Regions from separate parts of the Homo sapiens genome. Here regions 2 and 3 are each linked to region 1. The links are contacts of gene promoters, found by promoter capture Hi-C in human tissues and cell types (Jung and others, 2019). All regions are on one chromosome and are shown on one strand. The core of a region is centred on a gene start or on the middle of the fragment in contact, and the rest is flanking DNA. Distances in the headings are between cores, read along the strand shown. Region 1 holds the start of ARL2 (ARF like GTPase 2). Region 2 overlaps SF1 (splicing factor 1). Region 3 has its middle 5.1 kb from the start of SPDYC.

Region 1 (3,455 bases), core at 495-2,994:
CTGCCCTCACTGGAGGCACTTAGGTTTTTTCCAATTTCTTGCTGTTCCAAACCATGCCACAGTGAACTTCGTTGTTCCTGTGCAGTGCCAGAATGTCTGTGGTGCAGGCTCCTAGAAGCAGGATGGCAGGCTCCTACCTCTAGACATTTCTTTTTTTTTTTTTTTTTTTTTTTTGAGACGGAGTCTCACTCTGTCACCCAGTCTGGAGTGCAGTGGCACAATCTCGGCTCACTGCAACCTCCGTCTCCTGGGTTCAAGCAATTCTCTGCCTCAGCCTCCCGAATAGCTGGGATTACAGGTGCCGCCACCACGCCCAGCTAATTTTTTGTATTCTTAGTAGAGACGGGGTTTCACCATGTTGGCCAGGCTGGTCTTGAACTCCTGACCTCGTGATCCACCTGCCTCGGCCTCCCAAAGTGCTGGGTTTACAGGCGTGAGCCATGGCGCCCGGCCAGCATTTCCCATTTTGATCTTAGCTGCATTTCGAAGCCTCTGGGTAGGCGATATGCTCACTTTCTTCCTTGTGTGTGTGTGATGGAGGGTAAATGGTGCTGACCGAAGGGTCCCACTCAGGCAGCCTATCTGTTCAGCCCTCCTCTGACCACAAGCCCCTTTCTGCAAGATGGGAAGCTCCAGCTTCTTCCAGACCTCTCTCTAGGCAAACTTCATGGAGGCATGAAGACATTGTGCTTTACCATTTACTAGACCTGAGTTTGAATCTCACCCATGCTCCTTAAACACTCTGGATTCCATTATCATAGCTACGAAAAGAATATAAACCTCTCAGGGTTGCAGGGAGGATGAAGCTGAACACGTGAAGTGCGTTGCAAACAGTTACACAGGAGTTAGCTATTGTCCTCAGCTGGTGCTGACAGCTCTTTCCCAAGCATGAGAGAGGCTCTTCCGTGCTGCCTATCCACACTTACCTGCAGCAATAAGGCTGTCTCCTGAGTTTACAAAAGGGCTTGGTCCTTGACCTATTTCCTCACTTCTTCTGGACTTCTTGAGCGCTAAAGTAAAGAATGAAACTCTTGGACAAAGCCATTCATTCAACAACAAATATTTATTGAGCACCTACTACATGCCAGCCACTGTGCTAAGCACCATCTGGGCCTCAGTTTTTCCATCTGCAAAAGTAGGAACTGTGCTTCTGAACAGGGAAACGCTGGGCCTCTGGGTGGGGGCAGCCTTTGGGGCGGGACTGCAATTCCGTCATTGGAACCCAGGGACGCCCCGCATGTTTCCGAACGGCCTCCAGGGGGCACCGCCGCCCTGAACTGAGAGCCACCGGAGCCGGGTAGGGGGAGGCCCAACTTTCCGCTCTGTCAGAGGATGATGCCGAGGGCCCAGATGAGCAGGATTTGGACTGTGTTGCTGGGAACGGGGGCCTACACTGGCCCCAGGATGAGTTCGTCCGTACCTGGGGGCCCTGGGTTCTGACTCTCAGGTCAGACGCAGCCAAGATGCAACTCAGGAACTTCAAGGTTTCCGCTCCGGCCAAGAGCCCCAGTCCGGCAGGGGAAAGGGTGGGGGAGTCGCCCTTGCTCCCCCAGCCTCAGCCCTCGGGAGGCGCAGCGTCAGGGCGGGCGGCAGCACAGAAACCCCCCGCGCCGCTAGAGGGACCCTCGCAGCAGCTGCGCGGGCGACCTCGCGGTCACGTGCGGCAAGGGCGGGACCAAACGAGCGTCCGGCCAATCGACTATGCCGTCGGCGAGCGTGATAGCCAACAGGAACCGGGAGCGGGGTCCCGGGACTGGGAAGAAACGGCGGCCGGGAGGGGGCTCCGGGGACCATGGGGCTCCTGACCATTCTGAAGAAGATGAAGCAGAAAGAGCGGGAGCTGCGACTGCTCATGCTGTATCCTACCGGACGCCGGAACCGCGAGGGTGGCGGGGTCCAGCCGGGCAGGCGGTGCCGGGCGCCCCCTGTCGGGAGCGGAACGCGGCGGCCGGCGCGTCCCAACTGCCCCTGGCGTCACCACGCGGGCCCCATCAATCGCCCCGTCGGGCCGGGAGGAGCCGCACCCCAGGACTGGGGCAGGGGCCAGCTCCGAGGGCCGCAGAAGCGGTCCTGCAGGCGCAGCGGCGGGGCTAGGCGGCCCGAGTGTCAGGGGTGGTGGGTCCCGGAGATAACTCGGACGCCACCACCCGGCGGCCTGGCCCAAGCGTGGGGCCGCTGCCCTCCCGGCTCTGATCTCCTCCCCCGGGCCCGAGGGTTCCAGGCCCCGGCCCCGCCCTCGAGCTCCGAATCCCGGGGGCGTGCGGGGTGGCGGGTGGCGCGTGTGGGCTCCGCGGATCCTTTCGAGCGTGGATCCAACAGTCCGTCTCTTTGGTGTTACGCGGCCCGTGGTTGTCCCTGCGGCTGAGGATGTGTGTGTGTGGGCCCGAGTGTCCCGTGCGCCCTGTGCGCCTTCTGAGTCCAGTTAGGCGCCCGCACCTGTTCCCCCAGCTCTGTGCCAGGCTCCGCGGGGGAATGGCTGGGGAGATAAGACGCTTACGTGCACATATAACTTAATAATCACATCATGACTGTTTTGTTTTTTGAGACAGGGTCTTGCTCTGTTGCCCTGGCTGGAGTGCAGTGGCACAATCAAGGCTCACCGCAGCCTCCAGCTTCTAGGCTTAAGTGATCCTCCTGCCTCAGCCTCCCAAAACTCTGGGAATATAGGCATGAGCCACGGAGTCCGGCCCATGTCTGTTTTATTTTGTTTTGTTTGAGACGGAGTTTCGCTCTTGTTGCCCAGGCTGGAGTGCAGTGGCACAATCTCAGCTCGCTGCAACCTCCGCCCCCCGAGTTCAAGCAATTCTCCTGCCTCAGCCTCCCAAGTAGCTGGGATTACAGGTGCCCGCCACCACGCCCGGCTATTTTTTTAAATATTGTTAGTAGAGACGGGGTTTCACCTTGTTGGTCAGGCTGTTCTCGAATTCCTGACCTCAAGTGATCCACCCGCCTTGGCCTCCCAAACTGTTGGGATTATGGGCGTGAGCCACTGCGCCGGGCCGCATGTCTGCTTTAAAGAGCTCTAAGAAAAGCATACAGTTCACTCATTTGATAAATATTGAGTGCCTAATATGTGCTAGACACTGTCCTAGTGCCCAGGGTAATAAAACTAAAAAATCTTACCTTCATGGAAATTCTGTAATGCGTGTGTGTGTGTGTGGCGGGGGGGTTGCCCGCGGGTAGAAAGATGATAACACAGGAAGTAAGTAAAATATGTAATAGAGGCTGGGTGCGGTGGCACACACCTGTAACCCTAGCACTTTGGGAGGCTGAGGTGGGAGGTTCGCTTGAGCCCAGGTGTTTGAGACCAGCCTGGGCAACATAGTGAGACTCTGTCTCTATTTATACATATATATATTCTCCATACATACTATATATATATGGGCCATGCTTTGGACCATGCTTCTGGGGAACAGGGCCTTATACTGCTCCAGGATGAACTCCCACTACGTATA
Region 2 (3,455 bases), core at 946-3,445, 240 kb before region 1:
AACCATCTCAAAACCATGAGCAGGAAGACTGCAGCAATGAGCTGACCAGAGCTCCTGGCTTGCTCAAGTTCAGTGATGCTCAAAAATATTTTTAGTCCCTGCACTGTGTACCTGTGAGAAAAACTCTATGCCCTGGGCTTTTGGCCAAAGCAGGTACTGAAAAGGCAGGTTAACGGGCCACCTCACTGTCCCCTAAGGGTGGGTAAATCAGGTTAAGATCTACATGCTTACCAATTGGAAACCAGTTGTCCATTTTCCTGTAACTTTTTATTCTCCCAACATTTTTAAGTTTTATTCCAATTTTCTAACTGTTGACTGACCATACATATTTCTAATTAAACCTTAATCCCCAAAGTGGTCAGGGTACAGTCGTCATACTATGATTTTATTGAACTGACACAATATGTTGCCACCAGTAAAACGTATTGAGAAAAAGGTAAAAGCGTTACTGTCAGCTGGTTAAAACTGTTTCCCAACCTGTCCTCAGGGTTAGGGGGGATGCCCAGGTCTCCTGTGCGCAGTTTACGAGTCAGGTCTTCTATCTGCAGTTGCACTGGAAGAAACCAGGTTAGGAAAGAAAAAAAAGGATGGAAAAAAGACAATGTTACCAATAAACATCTCAAATCTCAACAACAAGCATGAAGAACTCGGAGACTTTGAAAGGGACGACTGATCAGTGAACACATTGAAGCAAAAACCCCCAACCACCTATCGGCAGGAGTCCTTTTACATCTATAGGTTTTTTTCACTTCAAAATGGTTATCACTTAAGGAAGCAAACAGTTTGTTGGAAGAGGGGTTAGCAATAAAGACTGTTCACTAAGGCTAACATCCAAGCAATTATTAGGAGGTGTTTCACCTCTTCCTCCCCACCAAGGCTTGCTTACCATTGGTACCCAGAACCATAAACCATGTTACGTCACCAATACCCGACTCCCATCAAATTACTTGAGGGCAAGAATTGAGTTTTTTCTTCATTAAATGTTAAACATAGCCCAAAATGAGACCCAATTAACATGGGACAAGGAAAAATACCAATTGAGCAAAGATCATTTTCATTAATACATTTAAAATTCCTTAAATAAGACATTTAATAACAAAATTCAACACCTTATAGAAATTTGTACATACTCTTTCTGTACAACCAGACCTGTACTAGTAAGGGTCTCCCAATACCTGCAGCTCTTATTCAATTATATGAAATATTTATTCAAATATTAAATGACAAACCACATATCTTAATAAACCAGTAACCATAAAGTGCTAAGAATTTGTTTTCAGGCTCACTGTTCATATGGGGAGCAGGCGTGTAGAAGAATGGAATGTGTGTTCAAGGACAATGTACTTGGCCCTCGGGCCTTGACCAATGAGGCTGTGCATGAAAAAGAGAGATGAGGGTTTCACAAAAGTTGCCAGTGACGCCAGGGAAATGTTACACAGCTGATTTTCCAAGATAATGGGAACTGCAGAGCCAGAGCAGCTTTCTTCAACATGCGGAATAACCACCTGTTCCTTACCTTCGCAGCATCTGAGAATTTTCAGCAGGCATCTCCAATAAGGGCAAATGTTACTAGGTTGGGTTAAAACTGAGCTGGCTCCAAGATAGGATTAATGCGTGTCTAACCAAAGATTCCTTCTAACTTTAAATACATCCACAGGGCTATACCACACCCACACACTAAAACCCTGAAGAAATGAAAACCCATTATTATCGAAAGAAAATACTGGCCGGGCACAGTGGCTCACACCTGTAATCCCAGTACTTTGGGAGGCCAAGGCAGGCAGATCATGAGGACAAGAGATCGAGACCATCCTGGCCAACATGGTGAAACCCCGTCTCTACTAAAACTACAAAAAAAATTAGCTGGGCATGGTGGCGTGCGCCTGTAGTCCCAGCTACTTGGGAGGCTGAGGTGGGAGAATCACTTGAACCCGGGAGACGCAGGTTGCAGTGAGCCGAGATCGCACCACTACACTCCAGCCTGGCGACACAGCAAGACTCAGTCTCTCAAAAAAAAAAAAAAAAAGATATTGAGGGCATCCTGGACAAAGCAGTATGTACCGTGGGAGACAGAAAAGTAGTAAGACACATGGTTCCCCAAGCTCCTTTATGCCTAAAAAGTTCTGACTTTGCAGTTGAGTATTAAGCTCAACAACTCGAGGTGAAAGTCACCTTCACTGAGGGGAGAAGGTGAGTCTTCCTAGCTGACTATGGAGATGTGGGGCCTGATCTAAATAAAAAGGGTCATTCTCTTCTGTGGAGAACTACACCTCTCCTTTGATTCTATTTTGATTATAGCTATAAATAGTCCTTAGGGCCCAGTGAACTAACTAGCCCTCCACAAAAACAGAAATGGAGATATAAAGAATTTGTGCTCTTCCCATCTTCTAAGTATGCTTGTGTTCTTGGGATATCACTCCACTAGGGGCATTTCACAAGGATGTAAAGACCCAGACTAGTCTAATATGAGACACAATGGAATGGGTGGGAGTAGACAGGAACAGTAGGGGAAAGAACAAGTATTAGTAGTACTGTGAAAGGAGACAGACAATTCCAACGCCTCAAAATTCTCAGCAGTCTAAAAAACAGGAAATTAAGACCCTCAAAAGTAGTAACATGCTGGCCTTGAAGCTTTTTGGTTGTGAAGGCCACAGCCTCGTAGGTTTAGGAGGTCTTTGCCCGAATTTCCTCCAAAGGGGATGTTTATTTGGTTAGTAGGAAATGTTTATAAAGTGAACTTTTTTGAGACAGCTGCACAGGTATATAAAGATAAAACTTGCATTAAAAACTTTTTTTTCCAAAAAAGCAATTTTGAGGTTAATTTCAATTCCACTGTGGATAGTCATTAATTCTCAAAACCTCCCAGCAAATAAAACCTTTTTATCCTAGCACTTCATTCCATATCCATGCAATATCCCTTTCCCAGCAGAGTTCTTTAAAAGTAAATACAAGAGCCTTCATTTTAAGACAGCTCTCCATAGACCAAACCAGAAAAGATGTTGAAGGGAAGGTTAAACTCTTAAATTCAAGAAAATAAAAAGGGGTAAATTGTAAACACACTTTCAGAACCACTTTTTGTCATTTTTTTTTTTTCAGAAAGTACCTATAAAAAGTAAAAGACCACATTTTAGGGGGAGAAATATAAAATTATGGTGAAAGGCCACGCTGTGAAAAGTACTTGGTTTACAGTACCTGCGGTGTTCTCCACTGGGGCCTGTCCAGAGAGGCAGATGACACTCACCTCATCAACTGGCAATGAACAGCAGCTGAAAAGGGTGGCTGCTGGACTGGGGACTGTTCTTACTCCTAAGTGAAACCCTACCTTCCTGATACTCATGGAGAACACTGCAGTTACGAACAGACCAAAACAAGGAGCTGCAAATGCAGAACTCACTGGGCAAAAACTGACAGATGATACCAAAGTCGTGAAAGTATCTCATCTCAAAAAAGATAAC
Region 3 (3,455 bases), core at 504-3,003, 160 kb after region 1:
TGGGAGGCTGAGCCGGGTGGATCACTTGAGGTCAGGAGTTCAAAAACAGCCTGGCCAACATGGTGAAACCCCTTTGCTACTAAAAATACAGAAACTAGCCAGGCATGGTGGCAGGTGCCTATAATCCCAGCTACTCGGGACGCCAAGGTGGGAGAATTGCTTGAACTGTGGAGGCGGAGGTTACAGCGAGTTGAGATCATGCCACTGCACTCCAGCCTGGACGACAGAGTGAGACTCTGTCTCAAAAAAAAAAAAAAAAAAGGCCAGGAACATATTGGGAAACAAAACTTGAATGGAAGACAGCTCTTTATTTAGTCTAGAAATGCCTTCAGGGCCAGGTTTACTTAGGAATAAGACTTGATCCCTTCCTTGAGCTACAGTCAAATATAATATTGTAATTATAATAAACAACCCCCCTCCCCCAAGAGACATGAGGACTCAAAAGGGTTAATTTCTTTTTTTCTTTCTTTTTTTTTTTTTTCACATCACTCCTTTATTATACTGATCTGGAAAAAGATTTAGTACAGTTATGCTCAGATGAACACTGGACCCATGTGGCAGGGCCAAGCAAGTAGAACATGATTCAGAAATCAGTGAAAGACATACTTGGACAGGACCAAGAGGCATTTCACTGTCACGAAACAAGGCAGGAAGGGATTGTAATACCCACACCAGGAAGCACTCCTGCCCCTCAGAGGTCAAGGAGCTGATCCTATATTGGTATGAGGAATGGCTTATTTTCTGATGACTACATGTGGGACTATTTCAACCGCCACGAGAAACCCCAGAAGGGTTATTGTTTTGTATTATTTATATATACTATACTTCTTAAATTAAATGTAACACATAACTAAATTCAGGATTGATCCCAACCTTCTAGAGCCAGCTCCTCTGGCGTCAGGGAGGAAACAGTTGTCACATCACCATGCAGGTTACATTCATCTTCCACTGGAATGACTAGAGCCCTCAGGCAGTGGCCTGACTGCAGACGAGCAGAGGACTGGCTCCTGGGGACAGACAGGCTCTGTTGCTTCTCCTCATTGGTCATGGCTTAGCATGGTTCCTCCCCACAAGTCCTTAGTAAACAAAGCAACTCGCAAAAACCCAAGTCACTACTTTTAAACTCTGTTGGATAAGGGGAGCTTTTCCACAGCTTGGACTGAGAACCTGTGCTCTAGAAGTGCTATTCTGACTAGATTGTATGAAGGGAGTGGGTGCAGGAGACAAAATGGCTAAAATGAAAATGGGAGTCACTGGTCCCCATCTGCAGCTACAACTCAAGATGTCTACAGATGGGGTCAGTGTGACATGTGCAGGTGGGAGGGGCAGAGGGACAAGACAGGCAGGGAGGGTGCTCCTGGGAACAGTATCCTCCCTGCTGGCCTTCACTTCTTGGCCTTGCCCTGGGCAGCCACAGCTTCCATGGCTTTGCGTACCATCTCTTCATCCCCCAGAAACTGCATGGGCTTGATAGGCTTCAAGTTCTTGTCCCATTCATAGACAATGGGAATACCAGTCGGCAGGTTCAGCTCCATGATAGCCTCTTCAGAGAGACCCTCCAGATGCTTGGCAATGCCCCGGAGGCTGTTGCCATGGGCTGCAATCAGTACACGTTTCCCCTCCTTGATCTGGGGAACTATTTCTTCATTCCAGAAGGTCAGAGCTCTGGCAATAGTGTCCTTCAGACTCTCACAGGAGGGTAGCAGATCTTCTGTGAGGTCTGCATACCTGCGATCCTTACTGATGTTGCTATAGAAAGGATGGTTGGGCTCCATTGGAGGTGGTGGGACATCATAGGAGTGCCTCCAGATCTTCACCTGGGCCTCACCATGCTTTGCAGCAACCTCCGCCTCCCTGGTTCAAGCGATTCTCCTGCCTCAGCCTCCTGAGTAGCTGGGATTACAGATGTGCGTCACCACGCCCGGCTAATTTTTTTTTTGTATTTTTAGTAGCAACGGGGTTTCATCATGTTGGTCAGGCTGATCTTGACCTCCTGACCTCGTGATCTGCCTGCCTCGGCCTCCCAAAGTGCTGGGATTACAGGCGTGAGCCACCGCACCCAGCCGTGAGGTGCCAGATTTTTATCTTTGCCAAACTGCTAAGTGGGAAACAGTCTCTTGGTGAAATTTTAATTCACATTTGCTTTTCAGTGAGCTCAACATCTTGTCATATGTTTAAGACCTATTTGTCTTCTTTTATTTGTGAACTTTTTTTTTTTGAGACAGGGTCTTGCTTTGTCATCCAGGCTGGAATACAGTGGTGCGATCACAGCTCACTGCAGCCTCGACCTCTGGGATAGCTGGGACTACAGGCCACCATGCCCAGCTAACTTTTTGTATTTTTGGTACAGACAGGGTCTCACCGTATTGTCCAGGCTGATCTCGAACTCCTGGGCTTAAGCGATCCACCCACTTTGGCCTCCCAAAGTGCTGGGATTTACTTTTATTTTATTCTTAGAGACAGCATCTTGCTCTATTGCCCAGGCTGGAGGGAAGTGGCACAATCATAGCTCACTGCAGCCTCCAACTGCTGGGCTCAAGCCACCCTCCCATCTCAGCCTCTGGAGTAGCTGGGATGACAGGCATGCACCACCACACCTGGCTAATTTTCTAATTTTTTTATAGATGGGGTCTCATTATGTTGCCCAGGCTAGTCTCAAACTCCTAGCCTCAATCAATCCTCCTGTCTAGGCCTCCCAAAGTGTTAGGATTATAGGAATGAGCGACCACACCCAGAACATGATTTTTTATATATGTATATGGAGAAAAATACTCCTTTAAGATGTTAATTGTAAATGTTTTCTTCAGTCCATCATTTTGACATAACTGTATGGATTTTTAATGTAGTAAAAAATGCAATTTTATGACTTTTGGGTTTTGTGTCATAGTTAAAAAGACTGTTTCCACACTGAGATGATACAAAAAGTTTCTCCTTTAGCTCCTGGCTGTATTTTTTTTTTTTTTTTTTTGAGATGGAGTTTTGCTCTTGTTGCCCAGGCTGGAGTGCAATGGTGCGATCTCCACTCACCGCAACCTCCGCCTCCATCTCCCGGGTTCAAGCAATTCTTGTGCCTCAGTCTCCCAAGTAGCTGGGATTGCTGGTGTGTGCCACCATGCCCAGCTGATTTTTGTATATTTAGTAGAGATAGGGTTTCACGATGTTGGCCAGGCTGGTCTTGAACACCTGACCTCAAGTGATCCACCCACCTCAGCCTCCCAAAGTGCTAGGATTACAGGCATGAGCCACCGTGCCCAGCCAGCTTCTGGCTGTATTTTCGTTTTCATTTTTGTACGTTTAAATATTGAAGGTTAACATTTAATTTTTATTTTTATTTATTTATTTTTTTTGAGACGTTGTCTCACTCTGTCGCCGAGGCTGGAGTGCAGTGGCGCAATCTTGGCTCACTGCAAGCTCTGCCTCCTGGGTTCACGCCATTCTCCTGCCTCAGCCTCCCA

The links. Contacts are between HindIII fragments. The study calls those that stand out against the background at their distance.
Region 2: a contact is called between a fragment that was not itself captured here and the fragment with the promoter of ARL2 in region 1, in 1 of the 25 tissues and cell types used here (liver).
Region 3: a contact is called between a fragment that was not itself captured here and the fragment with the promoter of ARL2 in region 1, in 1 of the 25 tissues and cell types used here (aorta).

The regions. Positions count from the first base shown.
Region 1 is chr11:65,012,416-65,015,870 of GRCh38, forward strand. ARL2 (ARF like GTPase 2) reads left to right here and starts at 1,745. Exons shown (of 5, transcript NM_001667.4): 1 at 1,745-1,857. The coding sequence starts at 1,793. ARL2-SNX15 (ARL2-SNX15 readthrough (NMD candidate)) reads left to right here and starts at 1,745. Exons shown (of 11, transcript NR_037650.2): 1 at 1,745-1,857. RefSeq lists a silencer at 1,592-2,351. The HindIII fragment of the contact is 13,144 bases long and covers 1-3,455 here.
Region 2 is chr11:64,772,953-64,776,407 of GRCh38, forward strand. SF1 (splicing factor 1) reads right to left here. Exons shown (of 13, transcript NM_004630.4): 3 at 478-553. Among named protein-coding and RNA genes, the nearest start is that of SF1, 3.9 kb to the right of the region's middle. The HindIII fragment of the contact is 3,858 bases long and covers 267-3,455 here.
Region 3 is chr11:65,173,650-65,177,104 of GRCh38, forward strand. It overlaps the pseudogene PGAM1P8. Among named protein-coding and RNA genes, the nearest start is that of SPDYC, 5.1 kb to the left of the region's middle. The HindIII fragment of the contact is 8,198 bases long and covers 1-3,455 here.